Regions from separate parts of the Homo sapiens genome. Here regions 2 and 3 are each linked to region 1. The links are contacts of gene promoters, found by promoter capture Hi-C in human tissues and cell types (Jung and others, 2019). All regions are on one chromosome and are shown on one strand. The core of a region is centred on a gene start or on the middle of the fragment in contact, and the rest is flanking DNA. Distances in the headings are between cores, read along the strand shown.

The links. The method cuts DNA at HindIII sites, captures the fragments that hold promoters and counts their contacts. A contact is called where the count stands out against the background at its distance.
Region 2: a fragment that was not itself captured here is called in contact with the fragment with the promoter of ABI2 in region 1 in 1 of the 25 tissues and cell types used here (spleen).
Region 3: a contact is called between a fragment that was not itself captured here and the fragment with the promoter of ABI2 in region 1, in 1 of the 25 tissues and cell types used here (neural progenitor cells).

Annotation. Positions count from the first base shown.
Region 1 is chr2:203,326,254-203,330,081 of GRCh38, reverse strand. It overlaps ABI2 (abl interactor 2), which reads right to left and starts at 1,688. Exons shown (of 12, transcript NM_001375670.1): 1 at 1,451-1,688. The coding sequence starts at 1,567. RefSeq lists silencers at 1,120-1,469, 1,746-1,933, 1,690-2,029 and an enhancer at 1,831-2,801. The HindIII fragment of the contact is 25,150 bases long and covers 1-3,828 here.
Region 2 is chr2:202,566,172-202,569,999 of GRCh38, reverse strand. BMPR2 (bone morphogenetic protein receptor type 2) reads right to left here. Exons shown (of 13, transcript NM_001204.7): 13 at 2,251-3,828. Among named protein-coding and RNA genes, the nearest start is that of FAM117B, 67 kb to the left of the region's middle. The HindIII fragment of the contact is 4,279 bases long and covers 1-3,724 here.
Region 3 is chr2:202,584,571-202,588,398 of GRCh38, reverse strand. No RefSeq gene overlaps it. Among named protein-coding and RNA genes, the nearest start is that of FAM117B, 48 kb to the left of the region's middle. The HindIII fragment of the contact is 6,678 bases long and covers 1-3,828 here.

The DNA of each region.
Region 1 (3,828 bases), core at 439-2,938:
TTAAAATTTACACTAAGACATGAAAATGCTTTCCTATATAGCTAATGTTAAGAAAGGTGCCTCACGCCTATAATCCCAGCACTTTGGGAGGCCGAGGTGGGTGGATGACTTGAAGTCAGGAGTTCGAGACCAGTCTGGTCAACATGGTGAAACCCCATCTTTACTAAAAATACAAAAATTAGCCGGCTGTGGTGGCGGGCGCCTGTAGTCCCAGCTACTCGGGAAGCTGAAGCATGAGAATTGCTCAAACCTAGGAGGCCGAGGTTTCAGTGAGCCGAGATCGCGCCACTGCACTCCAACCTGGACTACAGAACGAGGTTGTGTCTCAAAAAGAAAAGAAAAAAGAAGGATCCCTGGAGAGATGGAGGTGGGAGCAAGAAAAAAGGAAAAAAAAAAAGACTGTGAAGAAACAGTTTAACATATTGCTTCCATTTCCATCTTTATCCCAAGAGAATTTAAACGGGAAAGAAAAAAAATGGAGGCAGAACCCATAATTCAAAATAACCATAAAAAAAAAAGCAAAAGATTTTAGATTTTGCAAACTGTGCCTTTTAACCTGCTATCCTTTCAAGTAATTTTTAAAGAAGGATTTTTTTAATCCACAGAATATTTTGCTTCATCCAGGAGCAGCTGGATCTCATACCATCCGGTATCCCCCGCCTCCATACACACGCCCCTACCACTATCAGCCCTTGAGCCAAACGATCCATCACGGTAAAAAAAAAAAAAAAAAAAAAAAATTAAACCAGGAGGTTCATCTTCCCAATTCTCTCTAAGAAACAGTCATAGTCTGTCCTCCTCCCACCCCCAGGAAAACTGCCTATTCTAACAGAACTAGGAGGGAGGGGGGAATCAGCTCATCATCCTTCTCCATAGGGAAAAAAATGGCATTAACTTCCAACAAGAAACTGCTGCTCTTCTACCGTATCCCCTTTAGAACATAAAATATTAAGAAAGGGTTTCTGAAGCATTCACAGGAACAGAAAACTGAAGCCTGAAGCACTTCACTCTGCAGCAAGATAACCCCTTAAAAATCATCCAGAATTTGGGGGATGGAGGTAACCCGTCAACACCCGCGACACCCCTACCCTAAGGTGGGGAGCAGGATTCCGTCAAACAGAAAATGCCACTCTCCGCCCCCTCCGCCATCCGGAACGCTGACCGGCGCGGAGTGCGGGGGCGGCCGAGGGCGGGAGCGGCGAGGAGGCGGGACGCGACACACGCACCACGCCGAGAACTGCTTCACCGCTTTTTTAAAGGTTTTTAAAATGCAGTTTCTCCAGCCGGAGAATTCCCACCCATTCACCAGCCCCAGCCCTCACCCAGCTCCCCACCCCCATCGGGGGCTCCGCTGGGCCGTGTCCCCGAGGCGGCCTCGGCCCCACGCCCCGAGGCGCGCGGCCCCCGGCGGGGGGGTCCCCGACGCGGCCCAGCTGGGGATGCTTCGCACCTGTATGTAGTTGTTCTCGCAGTAATCGGCCACCCGTTCCAGATTTGTGTAGCTGTCGAAGAGGGCCCGGCGGCCCCCCGGGATTTCCTCTTCCAGCAGCATCTGCAGCTCCGCCATCTTCACATCCTCCTCCTCCTCCTCCTCATACAGGTCGCAGAGGGAGCGGCGGCCGCAGCGCCAAGGAAACCCAGGACCGGGAGAGGAGGAGCGGCGGCGACGGCGGCGGTAACTCGGAAGGAGCGAGAAACAGCCCCAGCGCGCGACAGGGGAGGGGGCGACGGGGGCGGGGCGCGAGCCGACGGACTCCGAGGACGGTCACCGCGGCGACGGCCGGCCGGGCGCGCGCACGCGCGCTCCCTTCCCTCCGCCCCCGGGAGCCCGAAAAAGATTCCCACCCTCGCCCGCGCCGCCGGCCCCTCCCCCACTTCCGGCGTCTCCTAGCGACGGCGGGGGTAGGGGCCGGGATGCGCGCGGGAGTTGGTGGTGCAGTTAACCCTTCCGCCGCCCGCCCGCCGCTGGAGCGGCTGGAGAAGCCCCCACCTCCCGGCGGCCTTTGTTAGCCCGGCGGGAACACACCACCCTGCTCAGCTGGCTTCCTGCCGGCTCCCTCCGGGACTCATCTCGGCTCCGTCCCCATGGAGGTCATCGGCCTAGGGAACTTCTCGAGGCTTTTCTCCCTCTGCTGCTGACGGGAGGCCGAAGGAGGGCACAGCCTCCACTCTTGGGACCCTCCTCTGTGAAAGATCACACCTCAACAGGGCAGGAATAAAACTTCCACGCAGCTTTCAATGCCACCTGACTTCATTTTTCTCAGATTTGACCTCATCCTCTTTGTTGCAGTGAATTGCAGTTTCCTAACCCCAGCTTTCCTGCGCCCCTGCCTCTTTGCACTTCCCCACTAACGCTGTTCTCCCCTGCCAGATTAGCCCCTTTCTCTCCTGGTTTGCGGTGCCGTGGGCCTCAGCTTTTTATGTTTGCCATTTCTATGATTCGCTTCCTCACTCATAACCTTTTCTGTCATTTCTCTAATGCTATCAACTTCGCTGTCCTTTTTCCTATTCATGGATTCAGTATTTAAAATTTTGAAAACGATTTTGCTAGTAGTAATTGCCTTCTTCACAGGGCTGTTACATAGATAAAATCAACGTTTATTGTGAAAATACCTTGAAAAAACATTAAGTGCTACAAAAATTCAAGGCAGATAATTTTCCTCTTGCAGAGTTATAATTCTGTTTTTATTCTCCAGATACTGTGTCTTGTTTTCCTAAATCAGACTACCCCACACAATGTAATCTGGAAAAACTAAAACTCCTGACCATTGCTGAGATATGAAGCCATGACCTTTATTTGTGCTGTGGAAAATCAAAGTTGATTCCAGGCAGTACCATCTTAGACTTGTGTAGTTAGAACAAGATCCATTGTTTCAACACTTTTCTTAATCTGGTGATCTCTTGGCCCTCCTACAGTGAATTTTTTTCATTCAGATGATGAGGAAACTTATACTTTCAAAAAAAAATCACTTTAGGACGGGCGCGGTGGTTCACGCCTGTAATCCCAGCACTTTGGGAGGCCGAGGCGGGCGGATCACGAGGTCAGGAGATCGAGACCATCCTGGCTAACACAGTGAAAACCCGTCTCTACTAAAAATAAAAATAAAAAAATTAGCTGGGCATGGTGGCGGGCGCCTGTAGTCCCAGCTACTCGGGAAGCTGAGGCAGAAGAATGGCGTCATCCTGGGAGAAGAGCTTGCAGTGAGCGGAGATCGTGCCACTGCACTCCAGCCTGGGCGACAGAGCGAGACTCCGTCTCAAAAAAAAAAAAAATCACTTTAATACCATATCATTACAAATATCTGGAGCAAACCCTAATGTTATATTGGCTTCATGATACATACATTAGCAGAATGTATGAGTTTTCACTGTGGAACCTAAATTAAAGGATATTGAAAATGTTGGTCTAGTCCAACTAGTTTTATTCTTAAGCACTTTAACCATCTTCTGTAGTAGTGGTTCTCAAACTTCAGTGTGAGGAGCTTGTTAAAAATGAAAGCTGCAGGGTCACACACACTAAGATTCATTAGTTTGAGAGCATGAGTGATGGAAATGAGTAGTTATTTAAATGACACATCAACTTGCTTCAGTGAATACGACATATGAATAATCAAGTGAATAAAACAAATGTTAGATGAAGCAAACTTTTCTTTCAGACTAAACTTCAATAGATCAAAAAATAATGTTGAAGAAGCTCATCAGGTGAGTTAAATGGTAGACAGACTCTTCCCCTATCATTACTTATTCCCACCCAGCATTTTTTCAACTATGGCTTAGCAATTAGCCTAATAAACAAATTTCCCTCTGGGATGTTTCGTCATTCTAGAA
Region 2 (3,828 bases), core at 336-2,835, 760 kb after region 1:
CAGGCACGTGCCACCATGCCTGACTAATTTTTGTACTTTTAGTAGAGATAGGGTTTCACCATGTTGGTCAGGCTGGTCTCAAACTCCTGACCTCCTGATCCACCTACCTTGGCCTCCCAAAGTGCTGGAATTACAGGCGTGAGCCACCGTGCCCTGCCTCTCTTCACTTTTTCTATTGATGTCTCATACATCTTTTCGAGACCCTGTTCAACATCATTTCCTCAACTGAAGTCTTCTTTGGCTCTTCAAACACATATTGAGCATGTAATTTACCACTTACTTGGGCCCTTACATGTCATCTTACTTGAATGCAACAATTTCCTGGATAGGCATGGAGGAGACAAGGCCAACCCAGGAAATTGTTGGGTAAGGGAAGGCAGGGATCATATTATACTTTTTGGTATTTCTCAGTACAGCAATGATTCAATTTTGAAAAAGTGAGTAATAATATATCAATAAAATGAAACCTGCTAAAATATAAAATTTGGCCTTTGGTCTGAAAGATGTTGTAGAATAAAGAGGAAGATTAATCACTAGTTTACTAGCTGTTTCGCAGAGAAGGATGTAAACCAGGTAGATTAGATAGGTATAGGTGTAAATGAGAATATTTTACTTGTGGCAAGTCATTATTAAAAGGTTCAGCAGGTTATTATTACACATTTTTCCCAGGTTATCACATTTTCTCTAAGGACATTCAGGTATAATTTTGAATATTACATAGTGGGCTCGGTAGAAAACTGCAATGGTATCCTGTAACATACCAGATTGTAAGGTTACGCATATGCATATGAGTCCAAATGAAAAGGATACCCCAAATCTCTTCCATCCCTAAAATAAAGTATTATTTAAGGTGACAACAGCCTATGGGAGTAGGTCATGTTTTCCACAAGCAAAAGTTCCCTAGGCATATAGGTAAAAGTGGCCCAGCACCCTTTTAAGGATAGTTGTCCCATGGATTGACACGAGATCCTGCTCCAGGACACTTCGCTAACACATTGAATTAATCTGGAGACAAACAATGTGTGCCTTCACAAACTCATATTCTGCTTTAACAAGGCCTTCTATTTAAAATACTAGATCCAACCCAAAAGATTATTTGATGATGTGAAGCACAAACACAATATTAGGCCAATAAAAATAGCTGTTTTGGTACCTGATAGCTTTCTGCACCTTTAAATTACTCCATGAATATTCCTGGTTACTCTAACTACTGAACTGTTTTTATTATTTGTTTATTTTTTAGACGGAGTTTCACTCTTGTTGCCCAGGCTGGAGTGCAATGGTGCGATATCAGCTCACCACAACCTCTGCTTCCCGGATTCAAGCGATTCTCCTTCTGCCTCAGCCTCCCGAGTAGCTGGGATTACAGGCATGCACCACCACACCCAGCTAATTTTGTATTTTTAGTAGAGACGGGGTTTCTCCATGTTGGTCAAGCTGGTCTCGAACTCCTGACCTCACGTTATCCACCTGCCTCGGCCTCCCAAAGTGCTGGGATTATAGGCGTGAGCCACCACGCCCGGCCAGTTTTATTTTTATTTTTGAGTTTCTCTTGCCACAAGGAGAGCTTGAAAATTGCAGTTCAAAGCAAAACGTAAAATGCGTTACAATCTCACTTGCCAGTTCTGTGACTGGGCAGAGTATTTAATTTCTCTTTCAGTTTCTTCATTTATAAAAGGGGGATAGTAATACATATTATGTAGGATTGTTGTGAGAATTATCAACAATGTATGTAAAATAACTAACACAGTGCCTGGCATATAATACATGGTCAGAAAATAGCAACTATTATACTAAATTTAGTTTTTTTTTTTTTTGAGACGTAGTCTCGCTCTGTCGCCCAGGCTGGAGTGCAGTGGCGCGATCTCGGCTCACTGCAAGCTCCGCCTCCCGGGTTCACGCCATTCTCCTGCCTCAGCCTCCCGAGTAGCTGGGACTACAGGCGCCCGCCACCGCGCCCGGCTAATTTTTTGTATTTTTAGTAGAGACGGGGTTTCACCGTGCTAGCCAGGATGGTCTCGATCTCCTGACCTCGTGATCCACCCACCTCGGCCTCCCAAAGTGCTGGGATTACAGGCGTGAGCCACCACGCCCGGCCTATTTATTTTTTTTTATTTTTTATTTTTTGATGTATCATACTGAGTTATGAAAGTCATATTAGATAGAACATTTACTATTCTAGTGCAAACTCCCTAATTATCATACTAACAATTTCTGGTGACCTCTTAAAATAAAAAAACACAATTACTATTGTCATTAATATGATCTTTAATAAACGGAATAACGCACCATTTTACAGCAAGCCTTTTTAAACCTAAAGAACTGCCTTAAAATCTCCTTCTCCAATGTCTCTGTATCAATACAATCTTTTTATTTAGGTTTATATATATCAAAGCATTTACTTACACTTATTCATAGAAAACTCTTTAGTGGCTTAATGTCAGCTTTCATAGTGGCATCCATAGATAATACAAAAGAAAAGTGATTTGCTTTATTTTATACTCACACTGATCCATCAAACACAACTTATACAGCATAGCAAGGCTTCAGACAGCTTATACAAAAGCAAAATAACTGAAATTATTCATAAAGTCATATATGATAGTCTATCTGTAATGTAAGAGCAAAACACACCAACAAAAGATACCCGTTAACAAGAAAGAGGGTTCTGAGGAAGTGCGAGTATTTTCTAGCCTTTCTTTTTCCGGAAAAGCATCCTCAGAAGTGAATACTCCGTAGCTTATGTTTCTCCTGTCCATTCAGAAAAAGCATGACAGCTACGCATCTCCATGTTTCAGCTACTACAACACCCTAAGAGTTAGTGTATTTTACAATTATCCATGTATCTTTATTTGAAAAATTATCAGCAAAAAACTGAGGATGATTCCAGCTTACATAAACACTGATACAATATAATCTCTATGGAAATGAAATAACAAGGCATACAAAAATTGCTTAAATAAATAAATGTGGCCAGAAAAAGAAAAGCCACAGAAGTCAAGCAATTCAGTGTTAAACTGGGACCTATCTTTGAATTGCATCTTTTAGTAATTTTTTCTTACTGTTAAGCTTCTTTAAAAATATGTTTCCTTTACATACTTACGAGGATTGGTAACAAGGTGAAGAGCCTGAGACAAGAGACTGGTTACAGATAACTTCCTAGGATTTTAAGTATATAGCACATCAATTTAGAGCTTGAACTTGTCTGATTCAAAGAAAAATTCTGTTTGACAATGTGATAAATACAGGTTATTTTCTCAAAACCATCCAAGCTATTACTAAAGTTATAAAATATTTAGTTCACTTTTAGAAGGCTTTATAACGTTAAATTGTCTCTTGAGAAAATCCTATCTGACAGGAACTACTTTACCAAGTTCCCTTATTAAAAAACAAACAAAATGAAACAATTTGTCCCATATCATGTATGGTCATTTGACCAAAGAACAGAAATGTAAGTCGTTTTAAGTCAGTGCTTCAACTCTAAAGGCCTAAATTTGTTGCAACATGTAGCCAATTAGTTGAGTCATTCCCTCTGTTCAGTAATTACAGAACTGGGCAACTTTTTATAATTAATGAAATCTGATATTATATCTATGTGAAAAAGTCAAATAAGATGAAACATTAAATGAACTGTGCAACAAACACTTTAAATATTCAACTGGATCTAATTGCTTACTTGCTAACAATTGAACTTTTTCAGTGTACAAAGGGATGAAAGGGGCCCTGAGTTTTTAAGTAACATGATGTCTGTAGAATGCATCTAAAACATGAAGATGTTTCTGAAATCTAAAGGTATAAATAAAATGGATAAAACCCACATGTTGCCTT
Region 3 (3,828 bases), core at 497-2,996, 740 kb after region 1:
TAAAAAGATTACATTAGCTCTCCAGCAAAAGATACTAACCAAAATGAAAATTCTGAAATTACAGACAAAGAATTTTCAAAATATATATTGTAAGGAAGTTCAATGAGATCCAAGAAAAGGTGAAAAAAACAACATGAAAAAATTAGAGAAACAATACAGGATATGAATGAAAAATTTACAAAAAAGAAGAAAATTTACTAAAAAGATAGATATTTTAAAAAAACAGAACTTCTGCAAATGAAAAATGTATTATAGGAATTACAAAACACAGTTGAAAGACTTAGAAATAGACTAGACCAAGCAGAAGAAAGAAATTTAGCAGAAGAAGACAGGTCTTTTAATTTAACCCAGTCAGACAAAAATAAAGAAAAAAGAATTTTTAAAAATGAGCAAAGCCTTCAAGAAATATGGGAATATGTAAAGTGGCCAATCCTATAAATCATAGGTATTCCTAAGAGAGAATAAGAAAAAGTAAAAATCTTTTGTTTGTTTTTTTTTTTGAGATGGAGTCTCACTCTGTCACACAGGTTGGAGTGCAATGGCATAATCTCGGCTCACTGCAATCTCCACATCCTGGGTTCAAGCCATTCTCATACCTCAGCCTCCTAAATAGCTGGGATTATAGGCATGCACCACCACACCTGGCTAATTTTTGGATTTTTTTTTTGAGATGGAGTCTCACACTGTCGCCTGGGTTGCAGTGCAGTGGCCCAATCAGGGCTCACTGCAACCTCCACCTCCCAGGTTGAAGTGATTCTCCTGCCTTAGCCTCCCGAGTAGCTGGGACAACAGGCTCCCGCCACCAGCCTGGCTTTTTTTTTTTTTTTTTTTTTTTTTTTGTATTTTTAGTAGAGACGGAGGTTCACTATGTTGGCCAGGCTGGTCTCAAATGCCTGACCTTGTATCCACCTGCCTTGGCCTCCCAAAGTGCTGGGATAACAGCCGTGAGCCACTGCGCCTGGCCAATGTGTGTACACCCACCATCACATTAGAACTAACATCCCGCTAGAATATTACGATTAATATCACAGGGTGTACACACATGGTGTACACTCACTGTGACATTAGAAATAACATCCTCCTAGAATATTACGATTAATATCACAGGGTGTACACACACGGCGTACACCCACTGTGACATTAGGTGTAACATCCCCCTAAAATATTACAAATAATATCACAGGTTGTACACACATCGTGTAACCCACTGTGAAATGAGCAGTAACATTTCCCTAGGATATTACAAATAATATCACTGGTGGTTTACCCACATGGGGTACACCCCCTGTGACATTAGAAGTAACATCACTTTAGGATATTACAAATAATATCATAGGGGGTGTGCACACATGATGGACATACCCTGTGACATTAGGAATAACATCCCCCTGGGAGGCTGAGGCAAGAGAATTACTTGAAACCGGAAGGCAGAGGTTGCAGTGAGCTGAGATCGCGCCACTGCACTCCAGCCTGGGTGGAAGAGCAAAACTCCGTCAAAAAATAAAAAAATAAAAAAAGGAATAACATCCCCCTAGGATGTTATGAATAATATGACAGGGGGTCTCAATCTCCTGACCTTGTGATCCGCCCTCCTTGGCCTCCCAAAGGGGATGTTACTTCTAATGTCACAGGAGTTGTACACCATGTGTGTACACCTTCTGTGATATTCTTTGTAATACCCTAGGGAGATGTTACTTATAAGGTCACAGGGTGTGTACCCCATGTGTGTAAACCGCCAGTGCTATTCGTAATATTCTATGGGGATGTCACTCCTGTGACATTAGAAGTAACATCACTTTAAGATATTACAAATAATATCACAAGGGTGTGCACACACGGTGGACATCCCCTGTGACATTAGAAATAACATTCCCCTAGAATAGTATGCATAATATCACAAGGAGTGTACACATCCCCTGTGACATTAGGGGTAACATCCCTCTAGAATATTACGAATAATATCACAGGGCATGTACCCACATGGTGTACACCTCCTGTGATATTAGGAGTAACATCTCACTAGAATATGACAAATAATATGACAGGTGGTGTACACACACGGTGTACACACCCTGTGACATTAGAAGTAACATCCACCTAGGATATTACAAACAGTATCACAGGGGGTGTACATAGATGGTACCATATGTGTAAACCTCCTGTGACAGTAAGAGAAACATCTTCCTAGCATATTACGAATAATATCACAGGGCATGTACACACATGGTATACAATCCCTGTGACATTAGAAGTAACATCCCCTTTGGGAGGCCAAGGCGGGCGGATCACAAGGTCAGGAGATTGAGACCATCCTGACTAACATGGTGAAACCCTGTCTCTACTAAAAATACAGAAAAAAAATTAGCCAGGCATGGTGGCAGGTGCCTGTAGTCCCAGCTACTTGGGAGGCTGAGGAAGGAGAACGGTGTGAACCAAGGAGGCGGAGCTTGCAGTGAGCCGACATCGTGCCACTGCACTCCAGCCTGGACGACGAAGCGAGACTCCGTCTCAAAAAAAAAAAAAAAAAAAAAAAAAGAAGTAGCGTCCCTTTAAAATGTTAGGAATAATGTCACAGGTGGTGTACGCACATGTTGTACACCTTAAGTTACATTAAGATTAACATCTTCCTAGGATGTTATGAATAATATCACAGGGCTTGTACACACATGGTGTACACGCCCCGTGACATTACGAGTTAACATCCCTGTAGGATATTAGGAATGATATCACCCCCTGTGGTGTACACACATGGTGTACAACCCGTTTCATAGGAGTGACATCCACCAAAATATTAGGGATAATATCCCCTAGCATATTACGAATAATATCACAAGGGTTGTAAACACATTATACAACTCGTGAGACATTAAAGGTAAAATCCCCAGAGGTTTTTATGAATAACATAACACGGAGGTGTACACACATAGTACATATCTTAAGTTACATTAGTAGTAACATCCCCAAGGATGTTATGAATAATATTACAGGGTGTGTACACATATGGTGTACACCTTAAGTTACATTAGGAGTAATATCCCCTTAGGATATTATGAATATTATCATAGGAGGTATACACACATGGTGTACACTCCCTGTAACATTAAAAGTAACATTCCACTAGGATATTACAAATAATATCACAGGGGGTGTACACACATGGAGTATTTCCCCTGTGACATTAAGAGTAACATTCCCCTAGGATATTACAAATAACATCACAGGGTGTGCACCTTCTCTGACATTAGAATTAACAACCCCCTAGGATATTAGGAAGAATATCACAGGGTGTACACCCTCTGTGACATTAGGAGTAACATCCCTCTGTGATATTAGGAGTAATATCACAGGGTGTACACTCCTTGTGATATTAGGAGTAATATCCCCCTATGATATTATGAATAATATCATAAGGTGTGCAGCACCTGTGACATTACGAGTAACATTCCCTTAGGATATTATGAATAATATCACAGTGTGTACACCCCCTGTGAGATGAGGAGTAACATCTTTTTAGGATATTATGAATAATATCACAAGTTGTAAACCCCCTGTGACATTAGGACTAATATCCCCGTAAGATATTATGAATAATACCACAGGAAGTACACCCCCTGTGACATTAGGAGTAACATCCCAGTATGATACTATGAATAATATAACAGGGTGTAGACCCATTGTGACATTCGTAGTAACATTCCCCTAGGATATTACGAATAATATCACAAGCGTACACCTTCTGTGACATTAGGAGTAATATTTTTCTAGTATATTATGAATAATATCACAGTGTGTACACCCCTTGTGACATTAGGAGTAACATCCTCCTAG